Regions from separate parts of the Homo sapiens genome. Here all the other regions are linked to region 3. Evidence: promoter capture Hi-C in 16 types of primary human blood cells and fetal thymus (Javierre and others, 2016). All regions are on one chromosome and are shown on one strand. The core of a region is centred on a gene start or on the middle of the fragment in contact, and the rest is flanking DNA. Distances in the headings are between cores, read along the strand shown. Region 1 has its middle 78 kb from the start of LINC02998. Region 2 has its middle 56 kb from the start of LINC02998. Region 3 holds the start of SNX18 (sorting nexin 18). Region 4 has its middle 100 kb from the start of LINC02998.

What was found. The method cuts DNA at HindIII sites, captures the fragments that hold promoters and counts their contacts. A CHiCAGO score of 5 or more calls a contact.
Region 1: a fragment that was not itself captured here is called in contact with the fragment with the promoter of SNX18 in region 3 in 1 of 17 cell types (neutrophils); the score reaches 7.6 in neutrophils.
Region 2: a fragment that was not itself captured here is called in contact with the fragment with the promoter of SNX18 in region 3 in 13 of 17 cell types (neutrophils, total B cells, naive B cells and 10 more); the score reaches 19.4 in neutrophils.
Region 4: a contact is called between a fragment that was not itself captured here and the fragment with the promoter of SNX18 in region 3, in 17 of 17 cell types (monocytes, M2 macrophages, naive CD8 T cells and 14 more). The highest score is 58.9, in monocytes.

Annotation. Positions count from the first base shown.
Region 1 is chr5:54,818,934-54,825,096 of GRCh38, forward strand. It overlaps the pseudogene CSPG4BP. Among named protein-coding and RNA genes, the nearest start is that of LINC02998, 78 kb to the left of the region's middle. The HindIII fragment of the contact is 7,986 bases long and covers 1-5,787 here.
Region 2 is chr5:54,797,480-54,803,853 of GRCh38, forward strand. No RefSeq gene overlaps it. Among named protein-coding and RNA genes, the nearest start is that of LINC02998, 56 kb to the left of the region's middle. The HindIII fragment of the contact is 7,306 bases long and covers 1-6,374 here.
Region 3 is chr5:54,513,789-54,520,403 of GRCh38, forward strand. SNX18 (sorting nexin 18) reads left to right here and starts at 3,971. Exons shown (of 2, transcript NM_001102575.2): 1 at 3,971-5,785. The coding sequence starts at 4,165. RefSeq lists silencers at 3,725-3,966, 3,847-4,406 and an enhancer at 4,879-5,823. The HindIII fragment of the contact is 5,643 bases long and covers 2,810-6,615 here.
Region 4 is chr5:54,842,951-54,849,442 of GRCh38, forward strand. It overlaps the pseudogene CSPG4BP. Among named protein-coding and RNA genes, the nearest start is that of LINC02998, 100 kb to the left of the region's middle. The HindIII fragment of the contact is 9,684 bases long and covers 1-6,492 here.

The sequences.
Region 1 (6,163 bases), core at 545-3,044, 300 kb after region 3:
CCGGGGACTGTTGTGGGGTGGAGGGAGTGGGGAGGGATAGCATTAGGAGATATACCTAATGTTAAATGACGAGTTAATGGGTGCAGCACACCAACATGGCACATGTATACATATGTAACAAACCTGCATGTTGTGCACACGTACCCTAAAACTTAAAGTATAATAAAAAAAAAAAAAGAAAATGGACTAAGACACATCAATAAATGCTTTAGTAAGTATTGGTTAATGATGACTCTTAAAAACATAACCATAATACCATGATCACACCAAAATATTACAAATAATTACTTAGTATTTTCAAATATCCAAATGTTCAAATGTATCTGGTAATCTAGTACTTGTCTTTTTTTTTTCACTAGTTGCACTGTTGAGTCAGGATCCTAAGTCCACATCACATTTGTTTGATACTTCTCATAGATGTCTTTTCATCTATGGGTTCCTCTTCTCTAATTTTTCTTGGAATTTGTTTGTTGAAGAAATTGGGCTGTCTGTCTTGAGAGTTTCCCACATTCTGGATTTTGCTGACTCCATCCCTGGGATGTTGTTTCGCATTTCCTCTCGCCTCTGTATTTCCTACGTACTGGTAGTTAAATCTAGAGACTTAATAGGAATCAGGTTCAACTTTTGGATAAGAGTATTTTACAGGTTGTATTTTATATTTTCTCTTGCTTCTCATTGCAAAGCAAAATATTAGGTTGCTTCTCTCTTGGATATGTTAAGATTGACAGGTAGATTCAAGTGTTGGCAGGTTGGTCCTTCTATTTTAAGGTTCTCCATTAGCCTGTCACCTAATAGATTTAAAGAGTCATTGATACCATTGCCTAAATCCATTATTGTTGCAGTGGCAAAACACTGATATTCTTTTATCATTTCTTCTTTATTATCTGGAAGTCTTTTATAAGAAAGAACTTTCCTTCATCTGCCATTTGGTTATAGTGAGGTACAGGAAAGACAGGATAAATGCTTGATTCTTTCCCTTTATGTACCAAACTTTAATCACAGAAGGGAAGGCTACAGACAAAATATTTAGCCCTTAGTTTCTATGGGTCACTTCTTTTTCTGACCTGCTAGCTATTATAATACTCTGAGTTTACAGATGTGTTTTGTCAAGGTATTCTATGTCCAGTTCAAACATGCCTAAGATAAACTATCATGTAATTTACAGAGCAGTTGAGTCCACCTCATCAATCAATATCTAGAAATGCTATAGTAACTAACAGAAGTTTGGGTCTCTGAATATATGTTGCTTTGGCTCAATACTGATACAGAGGCTATATCTTCATCTCGAGTTCTAGAAAGGCTTTTGGTCTGGTGAGTTTCCATGGAAGATAAGCTCCCTGTCCCAAAGTAGCCAAAAACTGTTGGTGAGGAGTTCTTTCATTCTTAGCCCATTCAAGAATGAGGCAAGGAAATGCTGTCTTTTGAGGGTTTTAAATGGGAAGAAGAAAGAAAAATATTATCTCTAAACATTACCTTATAGAGAAACAAGGTTACTCAGGAGAAATTGAAGTTTCTCCAAATATAGCAATTTCTGGTACTAATGAGTGATTCAGTTCCCCAGCAGTTCCTGGGAAAGAAAGTCTGCTTTATTTGGCAGCCCTAGCATTTCAATTCCTAGCTTAAGATTTATGGTTAGTCATAAATGCATTTCCCCTCCCAGAAACAGGTGACTGTGCCATGAATTTTGGACCAGAGGATGCTTTTTATTCAGCTTGAGAGAGGCATCATATTATAAAGCAAAAAAGATCCATTTCCCTAAGATGAAAAGTAGCATAGTCTATTAACCAGGAAGAAAGATTTTCTTGGAAGCTGGTCAACCTTGTCCTTTGGTATAAGTGAAAATTAGCTTCCCTGAAAAATATATAAGAAGTTGTTAGAATAATCTAAGGATCTTCCGACGTCCGTGGTACAGAGAGTGATTGTCCCAGGAAAGGGATAGTGCTCACAGACAATTGAGATGAAAGTCAGAAATCTTCTGAGGGAAGAGATTGGGGAAGAGTTCTAAACATAGCTTTGTATTTCAGGAGCCTAGTGGAGGAGAGATCTGTTATAGGTTCTATTTTTAAAAAGGCATTTCAAGAGTATGAAATTAAGTGTGAATAACTAATTGCCTAATTTTACCCTGGAGAGTGACAGAGAGAATTTAATTAGATGCATCTTGAGTATCTGGACTTTAAGACTGGATAGGGCATTACTGAAAGTGCTGAGCTAGAAATAAAAGGGACTAAGGGTGCCTGTGGAATGTGCACTTGCTGGCCATGCCCTGAAAGAGGTTTGCAGGTGAGTAGGTTCTTTAATGTTCAGAAGAGAGCTTTTCCTTCTGCAGCTTTAAGAGCCAGGTTCCAAGGGGTGTGTGTGTATTAAGGAGAAGGCCAGGAAAGGCAGAATGAGACCAAGACTTCAGGAGAAAAAGTATAGGGTAAACCTGAAGAGAGAAGGATCTAAGAGAGGATTAGGAATTTTGTCACCTAAAATAGAAAATGGCCTTAGGAACAATTTCCAACAGCTCTACATATTTCCATGGTATTAAATATGGATAGATAAGCCACTTAGCTGAATACCTGGGCTCTGGGGTTAGGGAGAGGAGAGAAGAGAGGTTTTTATTTCTTATGGATTTAATTTAGCCCAGATATTTTCTCTTTAACAGATGAAATCTTTCTGGAATGTTGTTAGAAAACCAATGGTGTTGGATTTCAACTAATAAACATAGTAGGAAAAACAAAATGAGAAAAATCGACATTTGGCAACCTCTGCAACAATAAACATTTCAGGCAAGAATCCTAAAACTAGTGGGTGAAAATGTGATGAGAAACAAGCTATTTAAATCTTTCCAAATGTCTCCTCACATATTTATTAATTACAAAGGGGAGAACAGTACCTTCAAGTGGATAAACCTGAAAGCAACACCTGACCAAGTGACAGAGGTAAACATCCTCAGTCCTGGGCAAAGTGAGCCTTAGGGCCTCTGATGGGAAGCTCTGAGAACCCAGCAGCTCTCCCGGTATTCCTGCCCCAAAGGCACAACCTAAATAGATCTGATCATAAGGAAACAGGATAAAACACCAGGTAAGACCAGACTGAGGGATATTCTACAGAGAACTGTCCTGTACCTAGCAAGAAAATGGCAAGTTCATGAAAGGGAACGTGACTGAGGAATGATTCCAGCTTGAAGGAGACTAAATGTCAGAGGCATTCAAACCAGAACAACTCCATCTTGAGTAGGGGCTGGGTATAAAATAAAGCTGAGACCTGTTGGGCTGCATTCCCAGGAGGTCAGGCATTCTTAGCCACAGGATGAGATAGGAGGTCGGCACAAGACACAGGTCACAAAGACCTTGCTGATAAAACAGGATGCAGTAAAGAAGCTGGCCAAAACCCACCAAAACCAAGATGGCAATGAAAGTGACCTCTGATTGACCTCACTGCTCATTATATGCTGATTATAATGCATTAGCATGCTAAAAGACACTCCCACCAGTGCCATGACAGTTTACAAATGCCACAGAAATGTCTGAAGTTACCATATATAGTCTAAAAAGGGGAGGGGCCCTCAGTTTTGAGAACTCTCCACCCCTTTCCCAGAAAACTCATGAATAATCCACCCCTTATTTAGCATATGAGCAAGAAATAACTATACGTATATTCAGTCAGGCAGCCATTGCTGCTGCTCTGCCTATGGGGTAGCCATTCTTTCATCCCTTTACTTTCCTAATAAACTTGCACTCACTTTACTCTATGGACTCGGCCTCAAATTCTTTCTCGCTCGAGGTCCAAGGACCCTGTCTTGGGGTCTGGATTGGGATCCCTTTCTGGTAACATAAAGACATGGGACAATTAAACGCTACGTTTTATGCTGTGGACTTTTTCTTTTGCTAGAAAAAAATTTACTGAAACAACTTGTGAAATTTCAGTAAGGTCTATAAATTATGTAATAGTATTGTGGCAATGTGAATTTCATGGGTTTGAAAATTATACTGTGATTCTGTAAGAGAATGGCGTTATTTCCAGAAAAAACACACTGAAATATTTAGAGATAAAGGGGCATGGCAGCAACTGGCTCTCAAAGTCTCCGAAATGTGTTTGTGTATGTAAAGAGAAAAATGATAAAGCAAATGTGGTTAAATGCTAACATTTGGGGAATATGGATGAATATTATACATGAATTCTTTGTACTCTATTACAATTCTTCTGTAAGTCTGAAGCTCTTTCAAAATAGTTAGAACATGATACTTTAAAAAGTAAACTTCATAATGTTTTACTACATCAACTTCAACTTCAAGAAGGGACAAGTAATCCCTCTTCTCTGATGACTCAGAGTATGCAGAATGGGGGAGGGAGACCCACTCACAAATGCCTTGGACACTTAAAAATCAATAAGTAATTTTAAGATCAAGATATAGGGTCTAGTTGGTCCCCATACCTGCCCCATCTCACCACCACCACCCAGCTGCCTCCTCTAACCTAGGCCATTTCACTAAGACTTTAACGAGGCTGTAATCCTGCCTTGCCTATGAAAGGGTGGATATGTGGTTCCAAATCCTACAACTTCCCAGAGTAGTGCTGTTACAGGTAGTTAGGCATTAGCGGGGCAGGAGAGGGCTCTCCCCGACAACCCACTAGAAATGCCAGGTGATGGCTCGGCAATTATTGCATTGCCTCTCTAAAAGTGATAAATTGGCAGCTGGCACCAGGGAGAGGCCATTTCCTGATGGTCCACACCTGTTAATGTTAAAGTGTTCAAGAAAAGCAGATCCCAGGGAGAAGAAACTTCCCGGGCATGCATATTAAGAGACAAAAATGGCAAAGTATGGTCTTCAGGGCACTCCACCACAAAAAGGAAAAAAGCCTCAGATGGACATGGGTACAACTTCCTAAGCACACTGCATGTGTTCAGTTCCCAAGGGTAAGGAAGGGACTACACATGCAGGAAGCCCACCCTAAGGAAAGAATTATGGGAAAGAGGCGAGCCTATAGAGCCCTAGGATCAAGGTAAGTGTCCCTTTTTTCTCTCTTTGACCTTCAGGTGCCCACTTGGATCTCTTTCAAAGATTATTTCCTTTCTTGTCTGTTCTAAAACCTTTTTAATAAACTTCCACTCCTGCTCTGGAACTTGCCTCAGTCTCTTTTTCTGTTTTATGCCCCTCAGTCAAATTATTTCTTCTGAGGAGGCAAGGCCTAAAGATGCCACAAATGTGTACAGATTCACCACCAGTGATTTGGGGTGACTCAGATCTCTTCCACTGCTAACAGTGCTTTCATTTGAAGGGGCAATATTATAATATCCCTCAGATCTCTGAGATTTAAACTCTCTGGATCTCATATCCTTGATGTCTAGGGAACCACAAAGAAAACCATTTGTTAATGCAGGGTAGATTTTGAATCTTGGATTGATCAGATCTAAATTCAAGTATAAATGTCACCAGTTTTCAGCTCTGTGACCTTTGTGCAAGTCACTTAATCTCTCTGAGCCTCAATTTGTGCATTAAAATATGGAATAATAACTCACTTGTAGATATGCATTTGACTAAATTGGTCTATTGCATATCAGTGTTCAAAAAAATGCAGGCCCTGGGCATTTCTAGGTCTTTCAAGAAAGCTAAGTTCTCACCAGCCAATTCCTTACTGGAACATCAGAGGATTCTGGTTAAGATGGGAGGCTATAGTCTTTTTTATACTGAATCATGGATGTGAATATTAAGCAATTAGAAAGTTCTAAAATATGCCTAATAAAATATTTTCCCATAAAAATGAAGGAATTTATAAGCTAAAATCTTGGCACATTGCAAAAGCTTACTTCTGGTTGCTTTGTAAATAAGTATTTGTTCACTATTCTAAAAATATTTGCCAAATGGACAAATAAACTACTTTAAAAGTGCCATACAAATCTAAAGTATATACATTTTTTATCATGAAGAAGAATTAAGGCCATCTAGCATATTTCTTACTCATTTATTTAACAAAATCACCTAGACAACACCTAACTTTTATTGAGTCCTAAACACAAATTCCAGGTGCTCTATGAGCCGCTTTATATAATTTATAATTCATGCATAGACAATAAGTTGGAGAGCCTAGTTTTGAACCTAGCCCTGCATGACTCCAGAGTTCACACCTTCTTGATTACCTAGGAGCCATGCCTACAGTATGGAAAATTCAGTGAAAT
Region 2 (6,374 bases), core at 1,578-4,077, 280 kb after region 3:
GATAAATAAAAGGCACTCAGACTAGAAAGGAAGAAATAAAAGTATCTTTATTTGCAGAGGACATGACCTTGTATGTACAAAATTCTGAATAATCCACTAAGAAACAATTAAAACTAATAAAATATTTAAACTAAGTGGCAGGTTACAAGATTGTTATACAGGTTGGATATCCCTTATCCAAAATGCTTGGGATCAGAATTGTTTGGGATTGGAAATTTGTTTGAACTTTGGAATATTTGCATAGACATGCCAGTTGAGCATCCGTAATCCCAAAATTCACAGTACTACAATGGGCATTTCCTTTGAGCATGACCTTTGAGCATCAGGTTGGCACTCAAAAAGTTTTGAATTTTGGAGCATTTTGGATTAGGGATGCTCAATATTACAAAAATCAGCTGTATTTCTGCACAGATATAAACAACCCAAAAGTAAATTAAGAAAACATTTCATTTGTAATAAGAAGAATAAAATACTTAGGGATAAATTTAACCAAGGAAGTGCAGGTCTTATACATTGAAAATGACAAAAACATTATTGAAAGAAATTAAAGACCTAAATAAGTGGAAAGACATATTATGTTCATGGATGAAAAGACTTAATATTGTTAAAATTCAATAGTCTCCAAATTTATCTACAGTGTCAATGCAATCCCAAACAAAATCTCAGTTACCTTCTTTGCAGAAATTGACAAGCTGATTCTTAAGTTCATATGGAAATTAAAGGAATCCAGAATAGCCCAAATAATCTTGAAAATGAACAGAACAAAGTTGGATAACTCATACTTCTTGATTTCAAAACTTATAGTAATCAAGACAGGTTGCTACTGGCATAAAGATAGACATATAGATCAATGGAATAGAATTGGGAGTACACAAATAATCCCTCATATTTATGATCAATTCCTTTTTGAAAGGTCACAAAGACAATTAAATGGAAAAAAATAGTTTTTCTGACAAGTGATGCTGAGGCAACTAGATATCTACATGCAATACAATGAAATTGTATCACTACCTCACACTATATACACTATATAAAAAATTAACTCAAAATGGGTCAAGCATCTCATTGTAAGAGCTAAAATTACAAAACTCTCAGAAGAAAGCATAAACATAAATCTTCATGACTTTGGAATAGGAAATGGCTTCTTAGATATAATATCAAAAGTACAAGAAACAAAAAAATAGGTAAATTGGACATTACCAAATTTTAAAACTTCTGTGCTTCAAAGAACACCAACAAGAAAGTAAGAAGACAACCCACAGAATGGAAGAAAATTTTTGTATATTATATATATATATATATATATATATATATATATATATATATATATGATAAAGGTTAGTATCCAAAATACATAATAACAAAAAGACAAATAATAACAAAAAGACAAATAATAACAAAAAGACAAATAATCCAATTTTTTAAATGGCCAAATGGTCTGAATAGGCAGTTCTCTAAAGAAGACATACAAATAGCCAGTAAGAACATGAGAAGATGTTAAACATTGTTAGCTAGTAGGGAAATGCAAAGCCACAATAAGATACCACTTCACACCCACTAGGATGGCTAAAATAAAAAAGTGGTATAGTGAGGATGTAAAGAAATTGGAGCCCTCATACACTGCTTGTGGGAATGGAAAATATGGTAGTCACTTTGGAAAACAGTCTGGCAGTTGCTCAGATGATTAAACATATACAATACCATATGAACCAATCAATTTCATTTCTTCAACTTCATGTTTTCATACGTATATGAAAATACATATCCACACAAAAACATGCACATGAATATTTCACACAGAATTATTCATAATAACCAAAAAATGGAAACAACCCTAATGTTCATTAACTGATGAATGAATAAATAAATAAAATGTGGTATACCCATGCAACAAAATGCTATTCGGCCATAAAAAGGAACTGCTACATGCCACAACATAGATGAACCTTGAAAACATTATGCTATCTGAAAAAGGTGATCACAAAGACTACATATTGTATGATTCTATACACAGTCATGAGTCATTTAAGGATAGTGCTACATTCTGAGAAATGCATTGTTAGGCCATTTCAGTGTTGTACAAACATCACAGAGTGCACCTACACAAACCTAAGTTGTATAGCCTACTACATGTCCAGGTTATATTGTATAGCCTATTGCTCCTGGGCTACAACCCTGTCCAGAATATTACTGTACTGACTGCTGTAGGCAGTTGTAACACAATGGTAGGTATTTGTGCAATAAAAATTTTTCAGCTTCATTATAATCTCATGGGACCACCACCATATATGTGGTCTGTTATTGACTGAAATGTTGTTAGGCAGCACATGACCGTATATGAAACACCCAGAATAGGCAAATCTATAGAAACAGAAAGTAGATTAGTAGCTGCTTAGAGCTAGAGGAACTGGGAGTAAATGGTAAGTGACTGCTATGGGTACAAGAATTCTTGGGGGTAATAAAAATGTTCTAAAATTGATTGTGGTAATGATTGCATAACTCTGAAAATACTGAAAACTATTGAATTGTATACTTTAATTGAGTAGATTTTATGGTATATAAATATCTCAATAAAGCTATTATTTTAAAGAAGAGAGCTGATGTAGTCTTTGAAGAGGCAGGAACCATGTTGAAATGAAAAGCATGAAAAGAAGCCTTTCTAAAATATTACAAAATACAATAAATCTTGGTCTTGCTAAAAGTTGGGGTAAAAAGGTTATTGTTTCTGGGACCCAACATGATCAGCAGAGAAAGTGCACTGAAGAGTAAGGAGATGTTCGGCTAGAAGATGGTTCAGTGAATGCCTGTCCCCTCAACATGATTCCAAAAGAGAGCCTTGGGCCAGAGTCTCCTCATGGGCACAAGGGTCCCTGGCTGCCAACTGTGGGCAGAAAGCAGTGTCTCCACAGACCTGAGCTGCCGCAGGCAAGGGGCCTAGCAGAAAGTAGGTCCTGGAGACAAGTGACCCAGGCGTAACTGTGTGCCTAAGGGTCATGGAAGAGTCAATAGGCAATGGATCCCCAGCCCCAGAGTCTGTAATCGTAGGGGTCACAATCAGGGAGAATGTAAACTATTGTCTTCGCATGGGTTTCCTCAAAAGCAAAGACTCATCTGTGAGTGGGAGCAGGAGTGAGGAACAGGGATGATAAACAGGGAAGGAAAAGAGTCCACACACCAATGTATTGTGCTCAATCTTCAGGATGTTCTGAGAAGTCTCAGAGAATGAATTTCAGAACCGTTCACTTGGGAGATGAAACGAGGAAGCATTTATCCATAGGCTTCAGTTTTCCACTGGACCAGAGCCATACTTCTGGGTGGTGCAAGCACAAGTTCCCACCGTCATGCAGTGGAAAGAGAGGAGCCTTCAGGTGGGTAGTGCAGGGCACAGTGCACACTCATGGCTGCAAACATGCTTGGAACTTGTAGCCACAGCTAAGGCTGGAGCCAGATGCAAAGTTGAGAGAATTCTAAACTGTGCTGAAGAGGTGTCTGATGCAGCTATCAATTAAATTCTATGAGGACTCAGAAACATCTGCATAATTTGTGGGGCCCAGTGGAAAATGAAAATGTGGGGCCTCTTGTTAAGAAATTATTCTAATTTCAAGATGTGACACAGAGCATTCAACCAAACCCAAAGCCCTCTGAGAATGGGCCCTGTATGGCTGCACAGGTTGCATATCCATGGAACTGCTATTCTCTAGACCCTTAAGTAGCAAATTTGCCCCTCACTCTCACTCCCATTCCTCCCTTACCGCATATGTACACATGTACCAGGGACACCTGGCCACACCTTCTAAAGAGCACCAACATTGAGGAGCCTGAATTCCCCTCTGCCCTGGCTTCTGCCTCTGCTCTAATCAAAGCACCCATAAGCATGGCCTCCAGCGGTGAACTCCTGACCCTGATGATGTGTCCTGAGGTTTTCCCAGGCCAAAGTCAAATCTGGACAAAGAGAATTTTTCATAAAAATCTGTTCTTCCCACCATGAAGTTCTTTGTTCTAAGATTCTGCCCTTACTTTAAAAAATGGAATTACGGTGATAGTTGGATACTTTAAATTTTGCTAGGGATATTAATTTTTTTAAGTGACAGTCCTTTGTTAATTCTGGAATTAAAAAATAAATTACCAATTGATGAAAGCCTGAGACCAACCGGGTTGGGAGGAGGGAAGAGCAGGTAAGGGTTTCCCATCCAGGACGGGGTTGTGCAGATGTGATCCCTGCTTGAACAGGAAGCGAATAGGGCAGGGTATTTTATCAGTGGTTCAGCCCCCTCTGCAAGGTAAAGAACTCTCAATCTCTCTCAGCTTGAGTCTGCCCCTTGTAAATGTTCCTGGTGTGCTCTTTCCTTCATCCATTTTCTTACCAAGTCCCCATCCAAGGACCAAGGAAACGGCCCTGCATGGCAGGTAGAGTTTGAGCATTTGGGAAGTTCCCTTCCTAAACACACCTCTTCTATCCTAAATCGTTCACCTGAAATTCTACTACCAGTAATATACCACTTTGGGTAGAATATGAGCCTCTGGTTTATTCAGAGACTTCATAGATTAGTTCTTTTATAGTGCATTAAAACCCTAGGTAAGAAAATTCTGCCTGATGCATTGAAAATACTGTATGATTATTATTATTCTATTAATATCAGGCGATTATATCACTAAATCCTAACAAAACCCAGAGAGGTAGGTACTAATATCACTATCCCCATATTTTTGACTGATGAAACTAAGTTCAGAGAAATTGAATAAGTCACACTTCTAGGAAATAGAGGGCTATGATCCAAAACAGACCCAGAGTCGATTATTTACCCATTCTGCCATGTCACCAGACCTGGGGCACACCAAGGGACAGGGAGTGCAAAGCTGGGCGGAGAAACATGGAGGGTGGGGGACACACTAGAGTGGGCCATTGTGTTCCAACTCTTGCTGCCCCTCTGGATGGGCAGCACTCACTTATGAGCACTCGAAGTGAAAACACAAAGCCCTGTCCTAAGCTCTGCGTGTCTTTGTCCTATTTCTCCCATATCCTCATCTGTCCTGGCACTTCTAGTGTGACTCTAGAAGGGCCTACTAGAAGAAGCAGACCAAAAAGATCCTTGAGGGATACCATCTTGCATCTTCAGACCAGGGGGAGGACCTAGCATTTCATATACATGAGGCGCCTTATAAATGTTTGTAGATCTCTATGAGAAGGCAGCCTCAACCCGGTCTCTATGAAACAGCCAATGGTGTTTTTGTGTATCATAAGCAAAAGATCCATCATTCAGCAGGCCAAACAGTGGGCTCCCAGCCCACTCTCATCCTCATGCCTCTTCTCGCGCAGGGCTAAACCTCATTATTAATTATGATGCCTCTGAATGATGCAGGAGTGGATAGCTCAGTCCCATCCAAAATTCAGGATCCATCACCTGATATGTACCATCACCTTCCATCTACCCTCCAAATGTGTCCACTTCAGCTCCAGAAATCTGAAGAACCAGAGAGTAAAGCCAGCTTCTGTGTCACCTTCACCTCACCTAATTAATGCAGGACTATAAGGAAATGTACCCAGATGTTTGAGAAGGGACCGCTAAAGGTTGGAATCTGCCAAGACCTCTTAATATGAAAAAATGTTTTCAGGAGGTGAAAAAAAAAAAAGAGAGACTCTCCACTCCCAGCTTAGCCCAGAGTATACCTTCTCTTAAGCAAAAACCTGCCAGTCTTCTGATACTAACCTCTGCTATACACTTATTTATTCACCAGTCATTTGTTAAGAAGCAGTGACTCTGTTATGACAAAGAGTCAAAACTATTCCGTTATGCCTCTGCATATGGGAGAAGCCATTTCAGGCAGATTTTTCAATTTCTAAAACTTCAATTTTCAATGTTAAATGAAGTTTTGCCAAAAATATTTCTTTCACAGTTTGAGCCAGCACCAAATGGTAAGCATTATTTCCTTTTAATTGAACCCATCTGTAAATCAGTAGAATATTCCAGAGCCTCTAGAAGAAAACTTTCCAAACTCTCTGTTAATTACTTGATTAATCACTGAGGTTTGACATCTGGATCTCACACTGATATTCTGGCTCCAGCAGGCACACTCACAAACAATAACATGAATTATTATTGTTAAATATCTGTGTGTATCTCCTTCCAATATGGACACCAATTTTATGTGTGCAGTTGCAAAATTAAGAGGAAAAAGAGGAGGGGAAGCCAGACTGTTTTGTTTCGCCAGGCTGGTAATCCTAGCTCCAGAGACATTGTGGCTGAAGCAAGGAAGAGGCCCACATACTCACTGAGCCAAGTATGTCTGGCTTTTCCACAAAGAGCAGGCATTCTCCCTGCCCAGCTGATGGGGAACAAAACCCACTTACTGGATTTAGAGATGCTCCTCGACCT
Region 3 (6,615 bases), core at 2,721-5,220:
ATATATGATATATATAAATTTATATAATATATAAATATATAATATATAAATATATATGATATATATAAATTTATATAATATATAAATATATATGATATATATAAATTTATATAATATATAAATATATATGATATATATAAATTTATATAATATATAAATATATATGATATATATAAATTTATATAATATATAAATATATATGATATATATAAATTTATATAATATATAAATATATATGATATATATAAATTTATATAATATATAAATATATATGATATATATAAATTTATATAATATATAAATATATATGATATATATAAATTTATATAATATATAAATATATATGATATATATAAATTTATATAATATATAAATATATATGATATATATATTTATATAATATATAAATATATATATCATATGTATAAATTTATATATTATATAAATATATATGATATATATAAATTTATATATTATATAGAAATTTTAATATAGTATATATAAATTTTTATATATTATATATAAAATATATATAATATATAATATATAAATAATAAAAAATTGTATATATAAATTTTTATATACATAAAACATATATATGTAGGTGTGAGCCACTGTGCTGGGCCTGGATGCTGTTTAATAATAGTAGTAGTTTTGAGGCGCCAGCAGAGTGCAGACCTGTGACACAGTGAACCGAAGTTCTCAGGACAGCTGAGTAGCTGCTGGGTCATTCCTCAGTCACCTGACCTCAGCAGACGACCCTCTCTGCAGTTGGCTGTCCTGATCTGGGATAGTGGGGATGGCAATATCTGCTCCATGCATGGATGAGTTGGTGTGAAAATACGGCAGGAAATAACACAGGAAAGGTGTAAGTGCATCTAAAATCATATGTACATATTTGTGTAATGCTTGATGCATTACATGAGTGTTTTCAAGTAAAATATAGTGTTAATTTTAATAATGACCCACTCTGTAATAGTGAAATTTCTAACAATCTGAAAATTTGCAGTGGTGTTCTGGGTGGTTGTGTTACCTTTAACGTTGTTGATTTAAAGAGGAGTGTTACTTAGCTGCCTTAGAAACAGTTACAGCTGGGTGGCAGAGGGCACCAGGCAAGCTGACCCAGACACAATAAGAGCTACTGGAGAGAGCTGACTTCATCTAGGGAGGATGTAAGTGGACATTCTTTCATTCATCTAACAAATACTAACTGGTTGCCTAACATGTCTGTTTTGTTCATTGCTATATCCTCAGTGCTCAGAAAACCTCATTGCCCTGAAAAGGTTTATGTTGTAATAGGGGAGGCCGTTAATGTATAGACGTGTTTATCTTAGGTCATAGTTGCTACAAAGAAAAGTGAGACTGTGGGATGGACAGGGGATGGGAGGGAGGGAGGGAGATTATATTAGCATAATTAGTACCAGCTGCCTCAGCAATCTCTGAAATTTCAGTGGCTTAGTCGGACAAAGGATTTTTCTCTCACAAAGTATGATTGGGGTCGGTGACTCAGGGACCCAGGCTCCCTCTGTCTTCCGGTATCTCCAAGGAAGGAGAAGAAAGGAGGGATGGAAAGCCCCATGGTTCTGACCGAATGAAGCGATGATGTGGCATGGTGGATCTCCCGGGGAAGAGGGCTCCAGGGAGAGAGAAAAGCGAAGGCAAAAACTTCAGCAAGAAACGTGCTTGACTTGTCCCAAAAATAGCAAAGCAACCACTGTGGCTTCTTTCAGTGGAAAAGGGGGCTGGAAAGATAGCCAAGGGCCAGGCTATCTAAGGCCTCTCAGGCCAAGGGAGGAAGTAAGAAAATGCAATTGTTTGGGGTCATTTAGTGTCCCCTAAAAACTTTACAGAAGCATATGGGTGGTTATAATGATTGTGTAAACTAAACTGTGAATAATATGCTCCATTTTCTAGAGAAATCTTTACAAAATGTGTTACTGTATCTATTTCCCTGAGTGAACAGTTATAGGTTGTTAATACTGGAGCACAATTTTCTACATATCTAAGACCCTCTAGAGGTAGGGGTTTTCCTGCCACTAGTGGCCATAGGGCCAAACATCATGACAGCCTGTCCTCATCCTTCTGGAAGCCTGATGCGCGGCAAGCACAGAGGCCTCCCACTGGACTCCTACAAAGTAAGCACCTGCAGACGCCCATGCCCCAGTGCTACAAACAACCTTGGACACCCAATAATTCCTCAACCACCATTTCTACAGAGTAGCTCAACCAGTCTGTAAAAAATCATCACCTTAAACTCCTGGAATTTTCACACCTGAAATAAGCCCAAAGTTACTGTACTTAACTCTAATCTAAAAAGTAACTACTAAACGAACAGAAGGGGCGAAACTAAATTTATTTATCTTACATATTCTAGGTTAGCTTTTCAGAAGTAAAATGAGTCATATTCTAGAGGTTTAGTTAATGTGGACTTCATGTTTCTGACCACATGAAATGTTGGCATTGAAATTCAATGATCCCTGTTGCTTACTGTGAGAATAGTCAAAACCCAGAATTTTCAGCTAAAAATGTAATTTAGAATATGCTTACTGAATTGAATTAAGGTTTTGCATTAGGATAAACACTGTGGGAGTGATTCTGGTATAGTGGGTTTGTGTTTTTGTGCAAGATGCTTACAATACCACAGCCCTTAGAATAATTGTACACTCTTCTGGCCCGTTTCCCAGGTTTCCTTGAAAAGGGTCAGAGGACAGGCTGAAATTAATGACACATGAATGCAGAACCTCAATTAGAAGTGTCTTCAAAGGAATAATTAGGCTAGACTTAATAAGAGGGGATTAAGAGAAGAAAAAGCTTTGGGCAAATTATACACTGAAGGAAAGGAAGATAGGAAACAAGGCAACGATAGATTGGAGCTGATTATTTCAGGAAGTGATTTTTGTTCTATTTATCTTAAAAATAATATAAATATAGTGAGACATAGAGACAACAGATGGATGGATGGTCACTGACCTCTTACTAGGAGTGGCAATGTGAACATTGGGACGCTTCCTGGTGCATGTACCCTGCAATTGTTAGTTTAGTACCCCTATTCCCTTTGTGAAAGAGGCCAGGGATTTTGCTTCCCCCAAATAACAGTAACAGCAGCAAAAGCAGCAACAAACCCTTCAAATCTGCTTACCCTGCCAGATATTGTTTCACTTTCCTCATCTGTAAAATAGGGATTACTTTATGATGGAATCCCCACAACAACCCCCGGAGGTAGGTACGATATAAGTGCCTTGTTCCAGGTCATACAGCTAGGTAGTGTCAGAACACAGATTGAAATTCAGAAGCCTGGCTCCGAAGTTTGAGCTCTCATTCACCGCACTACATATATCTATGGGAGGATAGGCGACACATGCATGTAATAAATGTGTGAGCATTTATTGTACTGGAAACTCTCCAGCTCCTCCCTCTCTACATGATCCTTTGCTTCTAATTTTGTCAATCACAGCACCTTCCCTGGCCCTTACTTTGTTCTTGCCAATCTCCTCTCCTTGAGCAGAAGAGGGAAGGGAGCCTGCTCTGTAGGTGAACAGCTCCTCCGCAGAGGCATCCTGTTTTCTTAGTGCAATCACTAATTCGCATTGCAAAATGCTTTATTACATGACTGGGTTGCCATTCTAGGAGCATTCACTGAGCGCTCAGAGTGGGAACGTTTATCAGGCATGCAAATGCTAACTTACTTTCTAGAGAATGTTTAACTTAAAAGCCTAAAGAAATCTCAGATAATTCACTTCGGAGTAGAAACCTCCTTCAGCCGCGCTCACTACGGCGCCCGGCTTCGCGGCACCGGCCACTAGAGGGCAGTGGCCGCCGCAAAGCCGACGCGGGCGGTGGGCTCGGCGGCTCGGCCATCGCTTGCTCTCGCCTGGCAAGGGGCTCTCGGCCGTGGATTAGCGCAGCTGGAGACGTGGGAGGCCGCGGGCCCCGCCCCCGACCGGCGGCGGCTGCGGCGGCCCAGCGCGGCAGTCGGCGCTGCGAAGTGGAGGCGCTGCGAGCGGAGCCGCGCGGAGGGCGCGACCGGCTGGTCCGGGCAGCGTGGGTTTGCCGCCTTCGGGGCTCCAGTCCGCGCGCCAGGGCTCGAGCAGTACCGCGGGCCCCTCAGGTGGGCCTCGGCTCGGGACGCCGGGAGTCGGGACCGCCAGTCGGGGCGCCGGGACCATGGCGCTGCGCGCCCGGGCGCTGTACGACTTCAGGTCGGAGAACCCAGGAGAGATCTCGCTGCGAGAGCACGAGGTGCTGAGCCTGTGCAGCGAGCAGGACATCGAGGGCTGGCTCGAGGGGGTCAACAGCCGCGGCGACCGCGGCCTCTTCCCGGCCTCCTATGTGCAGGTGATCCGCGCCCCCGAGCCTGGCCCGGCGGGAGACGGCGGCCCGGGCGCCCCGGCCCGCTACGCCAATGTGCCCCCCGGGGGCTTCGAGCCCCTGCCTGTCGCGCCCCCCGCCTCCTTCAAGCCGCCGCCTGACGCCTTCCAGGCGCTGCTGCAGCCACAGCAGGCGCCGCCTCCGAGCACCTTCCAGCCGCCCGGCGCGGGCTTCCCGTACGGCGGGGGCGCCCTGCAGCCGTCGCCTCAGCAGCTCTACGGCGGCTACCAGGCCAGCCAAGGCAGCGATGATGACTGGGACGACGAGTGGGACGACAGCTCCACGGTGGCGGACGAGCCGGGCGCTCTGGGCAGCGGAGCATACCCGGACCTCGACGGCTCGTCTTCGGCGGGTGTGGGCGCAGCCGGCCGCTACCGCCTGTCCACGCGCTCCGACCTGTCCCTGGGTTCCCGCGGCGGCTCGGTCCCCCCGCAGCACCACCCGTCGGGGCCCAAGAGCTCGGCCACCGTGAGCCGCAACCTCAATCGCTTCTCCACCTTCGTCAAGTCCGGCGGGGAGGCCTTCGTGCTGGGGGAGGCGTCAGGCTTCGTGAAGGACGGGGACAAGCTGTGCGTGGTGCTGGGGCCCTATGGCCCCGAGTGGCAGGAGAACCCCTACCCGTTCCAGTGCACCATCGACGACCCCACCAAGCAGACCAAGTTCAAGGGCATGAAGAGCTACATCTCCTACAAGCTGGTGCCCACGCACACGCAGGTGCCGGTGCATCGGCGCTACAAGCACTTCGACTGGCTGTACGCGCGCCTGGCGGAGAAGTTCCCGGTCATCTCCGTGCCCCACCTGCCCGAGAAGCAGGCCACCGGCCGCTTCGAGGAGGACTTCATCTCTAAGCGCAGGAAGGGCCTGATCTGGTGGATGAACCACATGGCCAGCCACCCAGTGCTGGCGCAGTGCGACGTCTTCCAGCACTTCCTGACGTGCCCCAGCAGCACCGACGAGAAAGCCTGGAAGCAGGGCAAGAGGAAGGCCGAGAAGGACGAGATGGTGGGCGCCAACTTCTTCCTGACCCTTAGCACGCCCCCCGCCGCTGCCCTTGACCTGCAGGAGGTGGAGAGCAAGATCGACGGCTTCAAGTGCTTCACCAAGAAGATGGACGACAGCGCGCTGCAGCTCAACCACACGGCCAACGAGTTCGCGCGCAAGCAGGTGACCGGCTTCAAAAAGGAGTATCAGAAGGTGGGCCAGTCCTTCCGCGGCCTCAGCCAGGCCTTTGAGCTGGACCAGCAGGCCTTCTCGGTGGGCCTGAACCAGGCTATCGCCTTCACCGGAGATGCCTATGACGCCATTGGCGAGCTCTTCGCGGAGCAGCCCAGGCAGGACCTGGATCCCGTCATGGACCTATTAGCGCTGTATCAGGGGCATCTGGCTAACTTCCCGGACATCATCCACGTTCAGAAAGGTAAAGCCTGGCCCTTAGAGCAGGTGATATGGAGTGTATTGTGCAGGCTGAAAGGGGCGACTTTGACAGCAGTACCACTGTGGGTTTCAGAATCATATTCTACAGGTGAGGAAGCGAGCAGAGACGTGGACGCCTGGGTCTTTTCCCTAGAGTGTAAGTTGGATTGCTCGACAGGCAGCTTCCTCCTCGAGTATCTTGCATTAGGGAATGAGTACTCTTTCTCGAAGGTTCAAAGAGTACCTTTGATGACAGTGCTATCATTTTAGAGTTTGAATAGTTGAGTAATGAGCTGCTCAAATCTGTAATCTTGAGACGAGGGTAGAATTAGAAGGGGACCTAAACCATGTTAGGTATCTGTTTGAACACTGCACTGTCACTTAGTGGTGAGTTTCAAAAAGTGAGGAAATAATGGAGAAGAACGGATGTCTGTAAATAGAAATCTGCTTTCACCCTTCCACACCTCTCAATCTCTGCTTTGGTAGAGGAATTAAGATCAATTCTCTGAGTTTAAGAAATTCCTGCAAAGAATTCTTGCCTGCAACCTTTACGAAGTGAAGTAATTTCAGGAAAAGCGTACTCATTTTGAGTTTGAAATCTATTAATGTACTGAAATTGAGAACGTTGTTTAGGAAAATTGTTTAGGGAAACTACATAGAATGAATATAATCTGAGTATTGGATCTGAGAGCAGCGTTGCTGGTATCCCAGTGAGTTAGCTGTCCAACTATCAGAGTTCATGAGTTATTAATAGTTGTTAGTGTCTCTGACCTTTGCTAAAGCACCAGAATTTGCAAATTAAAAAAATATATAGCAGTAGTGCTTGTCTTAACA
Region 4 (6,492 bases), core at 1,556-4,055, 330 kb after region 3:
GAACATGGGTTTAAAATGTTTATATGGACACTGAATCACATTTGATGGAATTTGGCTGTTTTGAGTTTCTCTAATCATGCAGCCACAGGATACTTCACTAACACTAAAGACAAGTAGTTTTGTCACTAACTCAAATTTCACATTTATATCTGTATTTGTATTTATATGTATTTTTCTTACCCACAGAAACACCATGTGCACATACCCATGCATAAGAACTTTATCATCTTCTACGCTTTTTCATAACTTGTTTAAAAATTCAGTCCTAAATGACTTAATAGATGATCTCTCCAGTTAAAGAGAACCATTTCCCTCAGTAGAAAGAGCAGTTTGTGAAATAACTTACTCCAATTAGATGATGGATGGCATCATCTAATAACTAAACAGAACTTGAGACAGGAAACTCAGAAAGTATATAAGATTCCTATGTTTTCATGTCAGGCATAATGGGGCTGGAAGATAATCCATTCTGCTTCCTTCTAATACACCAACTACTGATAACACAGGAAAAAAAACTACTTTGTGAATTATCCTTTAATTTCTTAAAAGTTAACAGATGAGACCATAAAGTAATTATACATAAATAAATACCCACATACTCCACATATATACACATGCGCATGCACACACACACGAACTTACACTGCCAAACCAATGTTTAACTCCTCAAAGTAGTTATGTTGAAAAATAACATGTGCCAATAACAATAGCACTACTTGAAATTCTTTTAAATATTTTCAGGTTGTTCAAGAATGCTTGATTTAGTTTCTGTCCAGTTAAACCACCTGGGTTTGGGTCACTGCTTTGTTGCTTACTAGCTATATAACCTTGGGCACATTTCTTAACCTCTCTCTGCCTTAATTTCCTCATCAGTAAACTAGAAATGATAGAGCTGTTGCACAGACTGAGTGACTTAATATATGAAAAGTGTTTAGAACTGTTTCATCAGGCACATAGTAAGCATTCAATAAATATTAGCTTTATATGACCCATCTTCTTCATCAGATTTGGCTTTGAGGACAGATGTGACTTTTTAGTATTTCCAAAAAGTCACTTAGAGTGTGATTATTGCCATTATTGAGGCTATTCTATAACATGTACTGCAGATTTTGTTTAATCTTCCAGCATTCTTTCATAACTTGGGGTGAATAGTTTATCTGTTTAATAATTGTGTTGTTGATGGACATGCCTATATCTTGCCATTTGAATATGCCTACTGAAGATTTTGCAGCACTAAGCTCTAAGGACATCAGCTTTTAAATAGCTACCAGAAATGCGAATCAATACAACGTTCAAATAATAAGGTTTTGGCCTTCATTTAAACCCACAGAAAGGCTATAATAAAATGCGCAAGTTGGACTGTTTAACAAAATTCCAAGCCCACTCATTCTGGTTTTTCACTTTTTACATTTTTTAATCCATCCACATATCTCATCCTCATTTCTTCTAGAGCTCCAGCTGACTTGGAAATGTGCTGCCATTTCTCTTCTCGTGACTTGTAGAAACAATCATTTTTTCCAAGGCCATACACACCAAGGCTGGACAAAGCATGTTTTCCACTGCAGCTACTCTGCTATGGAACACTGCTTTCCCTCCCTCTCGCCTCTGAAATATACCATCTTCCAAAACAAATGGAAAACCTGCCACTCAAAACAAGATCTAGTAGCCTCAGGTCTCATTTCCACTCAAACCAAATTTAGTTCAATTAACGACCCCATTGCTTCAGGTAAGGCCTGATTTAGTGCCCAGTGCTTGGTAATGGAAACTTCAGGCAGATGAGGAGAAGGAAAACAAAGACCCCCAATTTGAATTCAGATTTTAAAGTGATCCAAAGCCCAAAAAAGAATAGTTCAAAGCATAAATATCAGAAAATAACACAAACCTGGAATAATAATTTTTAAATTGACCTTTAGCTTTAAGAAGAGTTTAGTGGTATTTAGAAACCTAATTGTGATCCCATTTAATCCTAGTTGTAAACTTAATATTTAAAAGCCCAGACCTTTGGAGGCAGAGGTTGCAGTGAGCCGAGATCGTGCCACTGCACTTCAGCCTGGGTGACAGAGCAAGACTTCGTCTCAAAAACAAACAAACAAACAAACAAACAAAAACAACAAAGCCTAGACCTTTGTTGCGTTTCATACGAGGGATGTGAAATGCTCATGAATTCACTCTCCCACTGTTGGTCCCCCGAGAGCTTCAATTGGCATTTCAAACTTTGCTGCCTTAATTCTTCTACTGTGACCAGCTCTCAAAGCTCCTTTTAGTGATGACAAGTATTTCTCAAAAGCAAGCAAATGGTTCTATTTTCAGTATAAAAACAACAAAACAAAATGTATAGTATTACTGAAAGAGGAACTTGAAAAATAGGAAAATGAAGCCCCCTTGTGGACAAAAATATGTTTTATCAGATATGCACAAAATTCACTGATCATATTTGAATACAAAAATACTCAGTAGAATATATTTCAAAGTAAAATGCAAAGGATTCACCCAAGATGGCCTAACTCCAATTCCCAATTCCAGTTTGTTGGGACACAAATGATCTCTTGTACCATTGAATGACCTTGGAGATCAGCTGAAAGAACTGTGGCTTAAGGAAATGTTTTAATTTGTCAGGAGAAAGAAGTGTGTTTTAAATGGTGGGACACAGAGGTTAACATTCTGATTGCTGGCTATGAACTCCCTCCAGAGTCTGAGATGTTATCAGCAACTCTATCCCCCACGCTCCCACCTTCTTCTCCCACTTAGGCTGCAGACAGACTTTCTTGCCACCTCCTCCAGGCCCAGATGACAAGTAGGGAGAGTGAGTCATCATGCAGGATAATCCGAATGTCTTGAGAACATGCTGTTTGAAAAGTCAGAAACAGCACTGAATCTGAAGACTTTATCACATTTGCATTTGCATAACTGCCTTTGCCCCAGACTCTGCCACTAACTTTGTTATTTTGGGCAAATCGCTTAACCTCTTGATCTTTAATTCCACCTTCTTAAAATTGGAATAAGAGCAATACTCTCTTTATCTGCTTCACCAGGTCCTTGAGCTTCTTCGCTAACTATGAAGGAAGAAGTGAGAGAACACTGTGGTGCCAAACTCAAACTCGCATTCTAGCTCTGCCACTTGCTGTCCACCAGCAGCCCTTCTGCTTTGGACCTTGGAGAAGTGTCAAAGCCTCTCTGCATTGCAGATTTCTCATCTTTAAAATAAAAATCATATCCCAGAGAGTTGTTGAAGATTCACTGGGTAAATGTAAAGCGCATAGAACAATGCCAGGCACTGTAAGTACTATGTAAGTAATAACTATCATTAGGACCATGTAATGGACCATGTAAATGGTTGTTATTATTACTGTTTGATATGCTCTGAAATATAGAAATAAGAAACATCATCATCTGAAATAATCTCCTAAGTTTAAAACTTTGCCTGGAAAGAAGTAACTGGTAACCATAGCTTTGGAGAAACTATGTTATTGAAAACTGCATTCTCGTGGCTCTACTATGTTGATAAAATGCATATGCTATATCTATTAGCTTTCACAAAAAAGTAAACACACCTGATGTGTGAAAATTATTTAATAATGTTAAAGGTTATCAATTTATGAGAACACTCTGCAATTGATCAATACACACAGTCTTTCCAGAAAGTTTCTATGCTCATTTGCCATTGTTATTACACATTCTAGTGGATAAAAGAGATACCACACTCCAATAAAAAATGAGGGGCAGATATTAAAAGGATGTTTTAAGGAATCGCCACACTGACTTCCACAATGGTTGAACTAGTTTACAGTCCCACCAACAGTGTAAAAGTGTTCCTATTTCTCCACATCCTCTCCAGCACCTGTTGTTTCCTGACTTTTTAATGATCGCCATTCTAACTGGTGTGAGATGGTATCTCATTGTGGTTTTGATTTGCATTTCTCTGATGGCCAGTGATGGTGAGCATTCCTCAAGGATCTAGAACTAGAAATACCATTTGACCCAGCCATCCCATTACTGGGTATATATCCAAAGGACTATAAATCTTGCTGCTATAAAGACACATGCGCACGTATGTTTATTGCGGCACTATTCACAATAGCAAAGACTTGGAACCAACCCAAATGTCCAACAATGATAGACTGGATTAAGAAAATGTGGCACATATACACCATGGGATACCATGCAGCCATAAAAAATGATGAGTTCATGTCCTTTGTAGGGACATGGATGAAATTGGAAATCATCATTCTCAGTAAACTATCGCAAGAACAAAAAACCAAACACCGCATATTCTCACTCATAGGTGGGAATTGAACAGTGAGAACACATGGACAAAGGAAGGGGAACATCACACTCTGGGGACTGTTGTGGAGTGGGGGTAGGGGGGAGGGATAGCATTGGGAGATATACCTAATGCTAGATGACGAGTTAGTGGGTGCAGCGCACCAGCATGGCACATGTATACATATGTAACTAACCTGCACATTGTGCACATGTACCCTAAAACTTAAAGTATAATAATAATAATAATAATAATAATAATAAAAGGATGTCTTAAATGTCATAAATTGCCTACACAGGCTATCAAAATCAGCAAGGCCAATTCCTGGATGCCTCTTGGCTCTTTTTCATCAAGTCTAAATTATGTTGACATTGTTAATAGCCATTGTGATTAAATCATAAAATTTCAGTGCACAAGACTTCATCATTCTAAAATCCTGACAGCAATTTCATTCACATTATACTGTAGACACAAGGAAAGCAACACTGTGATTATACACCCTAATCTACATCCCTTTTTCTTGGAATATTTAAAATTTCATAATGTGTTATTTTTCTTCCTTCATAACTTTGGGCCACAACAGCAGTATATAAAGTGGATCAGTCAGGTTTGCAGACAGTGTGGCTGGTACTTCCATCCCAACCTCCTTTCCTGCTGAAACGAACAAGGCAGAGGCGCAGGGTCAAGGGCAGTCAGGGTTAACCAGCAGGCAGGGCTGGGACCTTGAGGAGTCACAAGGAGACTTCAAAGCTGAGGGCAACAAACCTGACTCCCCACCTAGAACACAGAGCCCTCTTACGTGTGGTAATGTATCCTGATAAAGCGGGACTTGGGGCTTGTTATAGGCTGTGTCAACTCTAGCACTACTCTATAGTACCAGTTTCTAGTGTCCTGGTGGATAGAAGTTCTAGTAGATGAACTTCTGGGACTTGACTCAATCCCATAAACATTATTATCCCAGATTATCCCAGAAACAGGTGGAGTGATGAAAAAATGTGTGATTCATATCTACAAAAGAATCTAGCTTTGCTAGGTCAGTAGCTTACAATGTTTTTTCATTAATACCAAAACTAAAGAATACATTTTTCAAAGCAACCTAGTATGCATATATATATTCTTATGTGTGTGTGTTTAAAACTCTATATATATGAAGCAAAATTTTCACAAAAAACAATATTTACCCTCATTATACACAACACATTCTGATACTACCCATTCTATTTAATTTTTTAAAAAATTGGTTCTGACTCAATTAATTTCACAGCCCACGCCACAGGTTGCAAGTGGGGGCTCTGGGCAAAGACATCCTGGCCACAAGACCCGCCCGCTCTTCTAACCATATGACTTTGGTCAAGTAACTTAACCTTTCTGTGCCCCAAGTCTGTTGCAGTCTTCATTTTATTTCAAGAGTCATTGAGAGAATTAAACGAGAAATCATTTAATCATTTATGTGATACTTTTAGAACTGAGCCTGAGTCTTAGCAGGGGGTCAATAAGTGCTGGCCTGCTTCCCTGTCATTATCTCTGAAAGGCCTGTGGAACAAAACTGTCTGGCGCTGGGGGGTCCTTATGCCCAGAAATCAACTCTCACCATGGAGAGATATCTATTCACTCTCCTCCTCCCTCCATCTGCTCCAGTCACATGAGCTTTCCATGTCGTCAAACACGCTCCAGACTCACTGTCTTTGCCCTTAATCATTCTTCTGCCTCGAGTGCTCTTCCCTCTAACATGCCTATGGCTCCTCACTTCCCAGTCTAATCACCCTCCCCCAGCTTCCCACCTTTACTCAGAAAAGAGTTCACCTCACAGGCTGAAGGTTGCCTGTCCTGAGAAAGCCCTGCTCAGAAGGTTGGCACTGCACTGGTATCTGGGAACTCGGCTATTAAACAGTTTCCCATGCTAATATAAAACTTCCCCTAAATTATAAGGGAGGCTTGCTGTGTCTAAATTGCTTGTATAAATAATGTGATTTATGCTGGACACCTGCTTCCTTCTGGGGGCCAGGGATTTGGGTACATACTAAGCAGAGGGTGTCTACCTGACTGGCTCCCAGTAAAAATCCTGGGCACTCAGTATCTCATGAGCTTCCCTTGTATCAACACTTTGCATGTGTCATGACAACTCGTTGCTGGAGGCATTAAGTGCATCCTAGGTGACTTTCCTGGAAAAGGACTCTTGGAGCTTGACCCAGTTTCCTCTGGACTTCACCCCATGTGCTGGTTCCCTTTGC